Linked DNA regions of Homo sapiens: regions 2 and 3 are each linked to region 1. The links are contacts of gene promoters, found by promoter capture Hi-C in blood cells and fetal thymus (Javierre and others, 2016). All regions are on one chromosome and are shown on one strand. The core of a region is centred on a gene start or on the middle of the fragment in contact, and the rest is flanking DNA. Distances in the headings are between cores, read along the strand shown.

Region 1 (3,503 bases), core at 538-3,037:
GAGCGCCCTGTGTTGGGGCACCGGCGGCGAGACCCAGGTGAGTGGCCCCTGGTCGGGCCGGAGCTGGGGGCCTGGGGCGCAGCAGCCTCGCTCTCCTCGCCATCTTGCCCTTCTTTGCCGCAGATGCTGGTGGGCTGCGCGGACAGGACGGTGAAGCACTTCAGCACCGAGGATGGCATATTCCAGGGTCAGAGACACTGCCCGGGCGGGGAGGGCATGTTCCGTGGCCTCGCCCAGGCCGACGGGTAAGACCAATCCCCTCGCTAAACTCAGGGCCGAAGGGAGAGCGTTGATGCTCCCTGAGGATACTGGAATGATGGCGACAGGCAAACTCTTAGTGACACGGCTTTGAATGGGTGACAGGGACCTGGGTTTCTGCCTTATGTAGTTCATACCTGTAACACACATTTATTGAACACCTACTGAATTCCAGGCACTGGGAGAAGTACAGGGGCTGCCGGTAAAATTTCTGCCTTCAAAAAGTTCTCATCCTCTAAGGTTTTTCACCTGACTCCATTATAATCCTCTAAGTAACCATGGGCAAGTCATTTAATAGTTTTGTGTGTGTGTGTGTTTGTTTTTTGTTTTTTTTTTTTTTGGAGACGGAGTTTTCGCTCTTGTTGCCCAGGCTGGAGTGCAGTGGCGCGATCTCGGCTCACTGCAACCTCCGCCTCCCGGGTTCAAGCGATACTCCTGCCTCAGCCTCCCAAGTACCTGGGATTACAGGCGTCTGCCACCACGCGCGGCTATTTTTGTATCTTTAGTAGAGACGGGGTTTCACCGTATTGGCTAGGCTGGTCTCGAACTCCTGACCTCAGGTGATCCACCTGCCTCGGACTCCCAAAGTGCTGGGATTACAGGCGTGAGCCACTGTGCCTGCTTGTCATTTAATAGTTTTAAGCAAGGCTGGGTGTGGTGGCTCATGCCTGTCATCCCAGCACTTTGGAAGGCCGAGATAGGTGGATCACTTGAGGTCAGGAGTTCAAGACCAGCCTGGCCAGCACGGTAAAACCCCTTCTCTACTAAAAAAATACAAAAATTATCCGGGTGTGGTGGCTCATGCCTGTAATCCCAGCTACTTGGGAGGCCGAGGCTGGAGAATCGCTTGAATCCGTCCCGCAGAGGTTGCAGTGAGCAGAGATCGCACCAGTGCACTCCAGTCTGTGAAACAGAGCAAGACTCCATCTCAAAAAAAACAACAAAAAAAGTTTTAAGCATGCATTCATTAATTCATTATTAATTCATTTATATTTTTTGAGACAGAGCCTCACTGTGTCACCTAGGCTTGAGTGCAGTGGTGCATTCATGGCTCACTACAGCCTCAACCTCCCGGGGTCAAACGATCCTCCCGCCTCAACCTCCTGAGTACCTGGGACCACAGGCAGGTGTCACCCTGCCCAGCTAAATTTTTAAGTTTTTTATAGAGATGGGGTCTCACTGTGTGCCCAGGCCAGTCTCAAACTCCTGGGCTCAACTTGAGCTCAACCACCAACAAGGTGATGTAGCTCTGAAAGCAAAGATTAGGAAGGTGCTAAGTGGTTGGATGACTGGCCTTGCTTTCTTCCAAAGATGATGAAAGAGGGCTGTGAAGCAGGCTGCATAGGTTTGGTGGTGGTAATTCTGACAGGTGAGGTCTGGAAAGCCTGTGGGGGGGACTGGATGTCTGAACTGGTTCTTGAGGGATGGGTAGAATTTTGACTGGTGGAGAAGGGGATAAGGGTATTCTAGAAAGAGGGTACTGCCTGGGAGAGGCCAAGGACTGGAGGCATGCTACAGGGTACATAAATAGGATAAATAGCATTTGATTTGGAAGTTGATAACAAGGAAGCGTTTTTTTTTTTTTGTTTTTTGTTTTTTTTTTATATACGGAGTCTCACTCTGTTGCCCAGGCTGGAGTGCAGTGGCACAGTCTCGGCTCACTGCAACTTCTGCCTCCCAGGCTCAAGCGATTCTCTTGCCTCAGCCTCCTGAGTAGCTGGGATTACAGGCATCCGCCACCACGCCCAGCTAAGTTTTTTTTGTATTTTTATTAGAGACAGGGTTTCACTATGTTGGCCAGGCTAGTCTGGAACTCCTGACCTCAGGCAATCCGCCCACCTCAGCCTCCCAAAATGCTGGGATTACAGGCGTGAACCACTGCACCCGGCCAAGGAAGCATTTTAATACAAGATGAACACTATATTAGGTTGGGATTAAATGTAAAGGGCTTTAAGTGCTAGGTTGAGAGATGTGCACTTTTATTGGTGTTGGTGAGTTATTCATTTATTGTTTTTGTTTTTCTGAGAGACGGAGTCTTGCTCTGTCACTGAGGCTGAAGTGCAGTGGCATGATCTCGGCTCACTGCAACCTCCACCTCCCTGGTTCAGGCGATTCTCCTGCCTCAACTTCCCAAGTAGCTAGGACTACAGGCATGTACCACCACACCCAGCTAATTTTTGTATTTTTTAGTAGAGACAAGATTTCACTATATGTTGGCCAGGCTGGTCTGGAACTCCTGACCTCAGGTGATCTGCCTGCCTTGGCCTCCCAAAGTGCTGGGATTATAGGCGTGAGCCACTGTGCCTGGCCAAGTTATCAGTTTTTGAATAGGAAGTACCATAGTCAGCACTGGGAGCCTGTAGGAGTATGGAGGATGGATTGGAGACAGCAACTGGGAGACTTTTGCCACAGGTCAGGCAAGTCGATACAGAGCCCGAACCCAGCTAGGGAGGGTTGGCAGGTGTGAGAAAGAACATAGGCGCAGGCTGTGCAGATCCTGGGGAGAGACTTGCTTGGACTTCTCGGGAGGGATATTTTAAGCAAGAGACTGACATTTAGTGCCTGAAACTCAGAGCAAGGAACCCAAGAAGTTGGTGTTTGACTTTGACCAAGCCCTAAATTCAGACCAGCCCTAGTAAGCAACTCAAGATTCAGACAGACCAGTACAGCCAGATGCTAGACATAGCTGTGAACAGCAAAAGCACTCTGGAATATCACAGAGTTGATTTCTAGCTGTGGTTGTAACATAGCTGAGTGGCAAATTAGTTTCTCAGCGCTTCTATTTCCTCACTTGGTAAACCCTCACCCTGTTGAGAAAGTTGAATTAACAGATTAGGAAGCTGGAAGCTGTCAAGCCCTGCCTAGAGCCCAGTGACCTAGAGGCTTCCTTCTAAACTGGACTGTTAGTAGGGAATCTGGTTGATATGAGTTTGGGGCCTAGAGAATACTTTTATACTTTTTTTTTTCTTTAAACATTAGTCAACTGTAGTAGTAAGGAGGAGAGAAAGATTAGAACAAGGAGTTTAAGCACTTAAAAAATCCCAACTCTATCCTTTCTCTGCAGCACCCTCATCACATGTGTGGATTCTGGGATTCTCAGAGTCTGGCATGACAAGGACAAGGACACATCCTCTGACCCAGTGAGGCTCCCCTGCCCTGATGGTTGGGGGAGGTGGGCTGGGGTAGGTGCCTAATGATCACGCTGGGGAAGGGAGGATTAAGGACTCTGGAACGGACTCTTATCT
Region 2 (3,503 bases), core at 617-3,116, 190 kb after region 1:
GGCCACCCAGTTATATGCAGGGCTAGTGGTCAGCCTCTCTGGCCTCCTGCCCCTGGCTTTCCGAAGCTGTCTGGCTCGGGTGCATGCAGGGACATTACAGCCTCCCTTCACGGCCCGGTTCCTGCGCAACTTGGCACTGCTAGTAGGGTGGGAACAGCAGGGTGGCGAGGGCCCTGCAGCCCTAGGGGCGCACTTTGGGGAATCTGCCTCAGCCCATCTGTCTGACCTGGCTCCTCTCCTGCTACATCCTGAGGAGGAAGTAGCTGAAGCTGCTGCCTCTCTCCTGGCCATTTGTCCCTTTCCTTCTGAAGCCTTATCCCCCTCCCAGCTCCTGGGACTGGTAAGGGCTGGGGTGCACCGCTTCTTTGCCTCTCTGAGGCTGCATGGACCCCCAGGTGTGGCCTCAGCCTGTCAGCTTCTCACCCGCCTGTCTCAGACATCCCCAGCTGGGCTCAAGGCTGTCCTGCAGCTGCTGGTTGAAGGAGCCTTACATCGAGGCAACACAGAACTGTTTGGTGGGCAAGTAGATGGGGACAATGAGACTCTCTCAGTTGTTTCAGCTTCTTTGGCTTCTGCCTCCCTGTTGGACACTAACCGGAGGCACACTGCAGCTGTGCCAGGTCCTGGAGGGATTTGGTCAGTTTTCCATGCTGGAGTCATCGGCCGTGGCTTAAAGCCACCCAAGTTTGTCCAGTCACGAAATCAGCAGGAAGTGATCTATAACACCCAGAGCCTCCTCAGCCTCCTGGTTCACTGCTGCAGTGCCCCAGGGGGCACTGAATGTGGGGAATGCTGGGGGGCACCCATCTTGAGTCCAGAGGCAGCCAAAGCAGTGGCAGTGACCTTGGTGGAGAGTGTGTGTCCCGATGCAGCTGGTGCAGAGCTGGCCTGGCCCCCCGAGGAACACGCCCGGGCCACCGTGGAGCGGGATCTCCGCATTGGCCGGCGCTTCCGCGAACAGCCCCTGCTCTTTGAGCTGTTAAAGCTGGTAGCAGCTGCACCCCCAGCCCTGTGCTACTGTTCCGTGCTGCTTCGGGGGCTGCTGGCCGCCCTCTTGGGCCATTGGGAAGCCTCTCGCCACCCTGACACGACCCACTCCCCCTGGCACCTGGAGGCATCCTGCACCTTAGTGGCTGTCATGGCTGAGGGAAGCCTCCTGCCTCCGGCCCTGGGTAATATGCATGAAGTATTTAGCCAACTGGCACCTTTCGAGGTGCGTCTGCTGCTGCTCAGTGTCTGGGGTTTTCTCCGGGAGCATGGGCCCTTGCCTCAGAAGTTCATCTTCCAATCAGAGCGGGGTCGCTTCATTCGGGACTTCTCCAGGGAGGGTGGAGGTGAGGGTGGACCCCATCTGGCTGTGCTGCACAGTGTCCTCCACCGCAACATCGACCGCCTAGGTCTTTTCTCTGGCCGTTTCCAGGCACCTTCACCGTCCACTCTCCTTCGACAGGGGACGTAGCCTTTTCTTGCTCTGGAAGCCCAGGGAGGTTGAGCAGTGAGAGAGGGAAGGGACTAACGTGCTCCGGAAGGGTGGAGGTTTCTCTTCTAAGTCCTTGGTCTAAAGAGCGCTGTCACTTTTTTCTCTCCCACTTTTTTTTTTCTAAATAAAATTTGCCAACTTGAGAAAACCAGTCCAGTGCTTCTGTCATGCTGAGAGCGTGCAAAGTCTGACAGCGCCTGGCTCTGGACGTTCCCGCCCCTGGCCTGAAGCCCCGCCCCCTGCGATAATTTGGAGTGCGCACTCTACCAATGAGACAGCTGCCCGGCGGCGCTCAGGTCGAACCAATCATAAGGCCGGAAGGGGCGGGAACTAGGATACGTGGCTGAGCGCGCGCGATGGGGCGGGAGGTTTGGGGTCAAGGAGCAAACTCTGCACAAGATGGCGGCGGTAGCGGCAGTGGCGGCGCGTAGGAGGCGGTGAGGAGCCCGGAATCTGGGGGCGCGCCCGGGACGCCCCCAGATCCCCCAAGTCCCATTCCACTCCTTCCTGTGTGTCTCTTGACACTCTGCCACCCCCGGCCTCGTGAGGAACCTTTGTTCCTCTGGAGGCGGCCTCAGACGCCTCCGGTCTCCCCGTGGTAGATCCGAGCGACGCTGGGGGCCTTGCCTGTGGGGCTCCGGGCTCCCGCCCGGCGGTTTAGTAAAGCCACAGCTGTGCGTCTTTCTTGGTCTTGGCCGCTCTCAGCCGCCGCCCTCCTTTGGCTGCTTGCGGCGGTCAACGTCGCCGCCCCCTTCCTGCAGTGCGCGGGGTCGTCGGGGCGGGGGAAAAGATGCGGCCTGGCCTCGGGGAATGCAGCCTGCGGCCCCGCGGCCCCTCGGCTGAGCTGGAAGCACCGGGCCAGCAGTTAAGCCTGTACTACCCTTCTGGCTCTACCCTGTAGAGCTCCGAATCCTCCTCTGCCCTTGTCTTCACGTGAGCACCAGCTCTGGCTTAGTTCAGTGTCCACGGTCGCTGGGCACGGCCCAGGGTCCAGTAAGCTCACGGCGTGGATGGTGTTGCTCAAACACAACATGTAATCGAATGGCTTGGTCCACGCTCTCGGGTTTATATTACTGGGGAAAAAAAAAGATTCGAAACATATCACCAGTGCCACAAATGTTTACTAGGACCTAACGGATATACTGGGGTGGGGTAGGCGTGTACTCTCCAAAGCGATGAAGAAAGCGTGGATCATAAACTCAGTTCCCTCGGAGCCTGTGATCTGAAACAATAAATGCGTGCAACTTGCCCTGCAGCTTATTCCTGACTTTGGCCTATGAACACCTCTCTTGGGGTGGTCAAGGCCGCCGTGAATTCCTTAGGGCCCTCCAACAGGTCATATCTGAAAGATGCTTTAGGAATCCTATCTCCATTGGCATCTTTCCGAACCAATTTTACAGACTGTGCAAATAGGGCCCCAGAGGGTATTTAACTCACTGTACGTCTTTTTTTTTTTTTTTTGAGAGACAGAGTCTCGCTCTGTTGCCCAGGCTGGAGTGCAGTGGCGAGATCTCGGCTCACTGCAAGCTCCGCCTCCTGGGTTCACGCCATTCTCCTGCCTCAGCCTCCCGAGTAGCTGGGACTACAGGCACCCGCCACCACGCCTGGCTATTTTTTTGTATTTTTAGTAGAGACGGGGTTTCACTATGTTGGTGAGGATGATCTCGATCTCTTGACCTCGTGATCCACCCGCCTCGGCCTCCCAAAGTGCTGGGATTACAGGCGTGAGCCACCGCGCCCGGCCTCAACTCACTGTACTTCTATTTACTGCTGCTTTTGGCAGGTGGACGTGGGTCAGTGGCCAAGAGTGCCTGTTGCAGTCACTCAGGTCACTCACTGCAGGACCTGTGCCGCATGCCTTGCTATGGAGTTTTGTGGTAGCATTTATTCTGCTTGGCCTATTAAACCACAGTGCCTAGTGTTTTCTTCATTTTTCTGTCTGGCCTGCTGTGGAACAGTTGTTTCGTACATTCCTCTGGAGCTGGAGGAGAGTCCTGTGATGAGATCATAGTACACTCTGTGA
Region 3 (3,503 bases), core at 1,004-3,503, 130 kb after region 1:
GGGCCGCCATTTTAAGAGAAGCCCTGTACGGTAAACTCCGTGACGTGGGGGCTGCCATGTTGGTACGGCCATCTTGGAATGGGAGTGGCTGTGGGCGCAGCCATCTTAGGTATAAAATCGGCTCCAGTCGCGGTAACTGAAGCCAAGCTCCGCCCCTACCCTCCTAAGAGTTCCTCTGCTGTACGACTGCACTCCCGCACCCTCCCCTAAATCCCCCCTCTTCGGCCTGTTTACCTTTTAACTTGGCTTCGTTGCACGTTTGTGTGTGTGTGTTTGCTCTTCGCAGCCTCTTGAGCGTCTTTTGTACTTAATTCTTACACTGTGGACGCTCTCTCGCGCCCGCCATCCCCCGACCCCTCTGATCTCCGATCCTTGACGATGTCTAGCCTGCATTGATTGGCCCTTTTCCCTGGGTATGGCAGATCTATTGCTTGATGATCCTCTCCCCCCAAGAATTCTAACACAGGAGCTGTCCTGAGGCTCTGGATGACTTTATTCTTCAAATGGCTTTACCCTCCCAGTAGCTCCAGGTGAGACTGAGAGCAAGAACCTGGCCCATCCCTCTCCATTGTCTGAGCAGGTCACCGAGGGAAGCGGGCAGGACGCGCTGGCAGAGTCTGACGGGGCCCTGCTGTGGGTGGAGCAAAGGGTGCCTCATATCTCTGGGGTGCTTGGGGTCGGCCACAAAGGTGGTAGGAAATGGGGTCGACAGATAGGTGAGGGTGGGCCTTGTGCTTCAGATAACCTCACATGGTCAGGCAAGGGTTAGGGATGGGATGCAAGGAGCCTAAGGGGCTCACAACAATTACTGACCTAAGGAAGGGCCCAGGAGAGGGAAAAGGGAGGAGTTGTGAGAAGGGACAGGGGAGCTCAGAGGAGAGCACAGAAGAACTTCTTCTCCCGGAAGGGGTTCTCCGAAGTGGGCACAGGGGTGATGAGGGGATCCTCACAGGCGTGGGCATCACAGTAAGTCATCAGGTCTGCTGCTGCCTTGGACACCTGGGACACAGCCAGGAAGGGTATTGTTAGCCAGGACCTCTGAAGGGGACTGCAGCCTCCCTCCCCAAATGGGTTCTCTTTTGCCATCTCCAGGGCTCCTTACGACTTGTCTTCTCCCTCATCCCCCCCAGAGGCCTGGGGACAGCTCTCTCTACAGAGCCCCAGACTCCTCCCCTGACCTCAGGGAGTGAAGGAAAGAACGCATCTCTTATCTTGAGCTTTGGGAACCTGCAGCACAGCACAGCCTGGCCAACTAATGGGAGCCAGCCAGGGTCCCACCTACCTTTATCCGACACAAGCTGGCTTCAATCTTAAGCTGTTCCACCATCTTGCGTGCTTGCCCAATACTCATAGTGCTGTTCACCGGGGTCTCACCTTTCATCCTGGAAAAAAGAGGGACCTCTCAGAGCACAGTCTCAGCTGGAGGCCCCCCTCCATGCTCACTCCACACCAACCTTTACAAGGCTGTGGTCATACCCCAATATTTTGTTCCCCTCCTATCCTCCTCCTCCTCCTCCAGTGGACTGTCTCATCCCTGTATTCCTCATGGAAAAAAATAGGGTGGGATGAGGTGCTCCCCAAACTCCCTCATGGCCTGGGCCACAGATCATTAAACCTTACACAAATGATTTAAGGCTTTTCAGCCCTTCAAACCATGTGTGTTCCCAGCTCTGAAGACCTCAACCAACCCTGATGAGGAGGGCACATCACCCCTGTCTGCTCCAGTGAGCCCCAACAGGAGAAAAACAGGCCATTACTTACCTGAAGCCACAAGCGGCAGTAGCAGCCCTGGGTGTAGGGTCAGTGGAGGGTACCAAAACCTTCTGCCTGAAATGGGTGCCCCACCCAGTAGGGAGTTGCAGCTGAAAGTATCTGATGCAGAAGCAGTGACTATACGAAAGGAGGCCCCTGGGGAGGGCCAGGCCAGAGGTCTGGTCTCAGTTTCTGCAGCTCAAGCACTGTCTGGATGGCTGGTACCTGAAGGATGAAGGATGCTAGAAGGAGCTGCTCAGATCCTGGAGCATACCAACTGCCTGGCCAGTGGGGGAGCCTAGCTGCCTGCATCCCTGCGCACACCCCCACTGTCGCTAGTTCACTGCCTGCCCCTCCCCCATTGCAGGCATCCTGACTCTGGGCTAGAGACCTCCCCAACAGAGCTGAGGCCAAGGCCGACTCCCCCTCTCAAATGGCGTGGTCTGGGCCTATGACGGCCCCTGCAGTGGAGTCTGTACTGGCTGCGGGGGACCCTGCTCATTTGAAAATCTGACATCAGCTGGGCAGTCGCCCCCCTCCTCCTTTCCTCCCTCTACTCTGACACAGCACTTAGCACCTGAATCTTCGTTTCTCTCCCAGGGACCCTCCATTTTCCATATCCAGGAAAATGTGATGCGCCACAGGTATCAGCGTCTGGATCGCCACTTCACGTTTTAGCCACAAGTGACTCAGTGGAAGATCCAGAGTCAACAGAGGCTCGTCAGGAAGATGTCTACAGAAAAGGTAGACCAAAAGGAGGAAGCTGGGGAAAAAGAGGTGTGCGGAGACCAGATCAAAGGACCGGACAAAGAGGAGGTAGGGGCCCTTGTGGGGACAGTCAGCAGAAATATACTGGAAATAGGTGGGCTGGCGTGAAGGGGGCGGGGGGATGGATTGGTTTTAAGAATTTCATTCATTTTGAATAGATTACTTCCCACGCCCGCAGCAGTGTGCAAAGATGTACACAACACTGGCCTTGCCTCTGAAGGACTTTATCTGGGGTGATTAGACGTCTACAAAATAGAAGACTGCCAAAAGCTAGTCTAGATAATGTGCTGTGGGGACTCTGAGGGAGAGTGTATCCAGTTAGGGTCAGAGGAGGTCCACAATGCTACCACGCTGGGAACAGGGCACTAATCTGCCTGCGCAACAACGCAAGAGGCCCAGGTTGCCGCAAACTGCAACATGCTCTAGGCGAATGCCCCCGCCTTAGATGCCTACAGGTCCTAGGAGCTGTGGGCGATAAAAATCAGCGCCAGCTGGATGACCGCCTCACTCGGCCGCTTCGCGGGTGAAATGGCCTGTGGTGAAGGTGTGCACGGAGGGCTGTGATTGCAGTCTCAAGGGAGAGCCGAGCGGAGGCTGCAGTCAGCGCATCCCCTGGGGCACATCTTGGGGCCTGCAGGGAGGCAGGCGTCTTTCCCCTTTGGTCACGGTAACCGGAGGGAAACCTGCCGCAGAGAGAGCCAGTGGCGAGCGCAAGGAGACAGCGACCTCGCAGCTCGGGAAGGCTCCGCCCCGTCCCGCCCCGCCCCGCCGTGCTGGACCCCGCCCTGGGCTGAAGCCCCGCCTCCCACGGCTACAAAAGCGGCCGGCGGAGAGGGGCGGGACTTCCCCGGGAGCCGGAAGTCCCGTCTCACGGTTGCCCTGGCAGCGCGCGAGGCTGGTGAGTCGGCAGCCCTGTGGCAGCCGGCGGGCTGGTTTCCATGGTTGCACGATTAGGTAGGGGCTCCGGGCGCTTTGCCCACCCC

What was found. The method cuts DNA at HindIII sites, captures the fragments that hold promoters and counts their contacts. A CHiCAGO score of 5 or more calls a contact.
Region 2: a contact is called between the fragment with the promoter of GANAB here and a fragment that was not itself captured in region 1, in 2 of 17 cell types (activated CD4 T cells and non-activated CD4 T cells). The highest score is 5.8, in activated CD4 T cells.
Region 3: the fragment with the promoter of BSCL2 here is called in contact with a fragment that was not itself captured in region 1 in 2 of 17 cell types (activated CD4 T cells and naive B cells); the score reaches 6.9 in activated CD4 T cells.

The regions. Positions count from the first base shown.
Region 1 is chr11:62,835,856-62,839,358 of GRCh38, reverse strand. WDR74 (WD repeat domain 74) reads left to right here. Exons shown (of 11, transcript NM_001369450.1): 2 at 1-37; 3 at 124-245; 4 at 3,323-3,398. Among named protein-coding and RNA genes, the nearest start is that of WDR74, 2.0 kb to the left of the region's middle. RefSeq lists enhancers at 1-105, 216-345. The HindIII fragment of the contact is 4,232 bases long and covers 1-3,503 here.
Region 2 is chr11:62,644,976-62,648,478 of GRCh38, reverse strand. It overlaps GANAB (glucosidase II alpha subunit), which reads left to right and starts at 1,866. Exons shown (of 24, transcript NM_198334.3): 1 at 1,866-1,917. The coding sequence starts at 1,880. It overlaps INTS5 (integrator complex subunit 5), which reads left to right. Exons shown (of 2, transcript NM_030628.2): 2 at 1-1,631. The coding sequence ends at 1,459. RefSeq lists a silencer at 1,695-1,774 and enhancers at 2,385-2,544, 2,860-3,503. The HindIII fragment of the contact is 15,573 bases long and covers 1-3,503 here.
Region 3 is chr11:62,706,174-62,709,676 of GRCh38, reverse strand. It overlaps BSCL2 (BSCL2 lipid droplet biogenesis associated, seipin), which reads left to right and starts at 2,253. Exons shown (of 11, transcript NM_001122955.4): 1 at 2,253-2,568. The coding sequence starts at 2,482. GNG3 (G protein subunit gamma 3) reads right to left here and starts at 2,001. Exons shown (of 3, transcript NM_012202.5): 1 at 1,762-2,001; 2 at 1,283-1,382; 3 at 476-999. The coding sequence starts at 1,381. The coding sequence ends at 871. It overlaps HNRNPUL2-BSCL2 (HNRNPUL2-BSCL2 readthrough (NMD candidate)), which reads left to right. Exons shown (of 24, transcript NR_037946.1): 14 at 2,353-2,568. RefSeq lists enhancers at 1-219, 350-1,549, 2,869-3,503 and a silencer at 3,210-3,503. The HindIII fragment of the contact is 17,480 bases long and covers 1-3,503 here.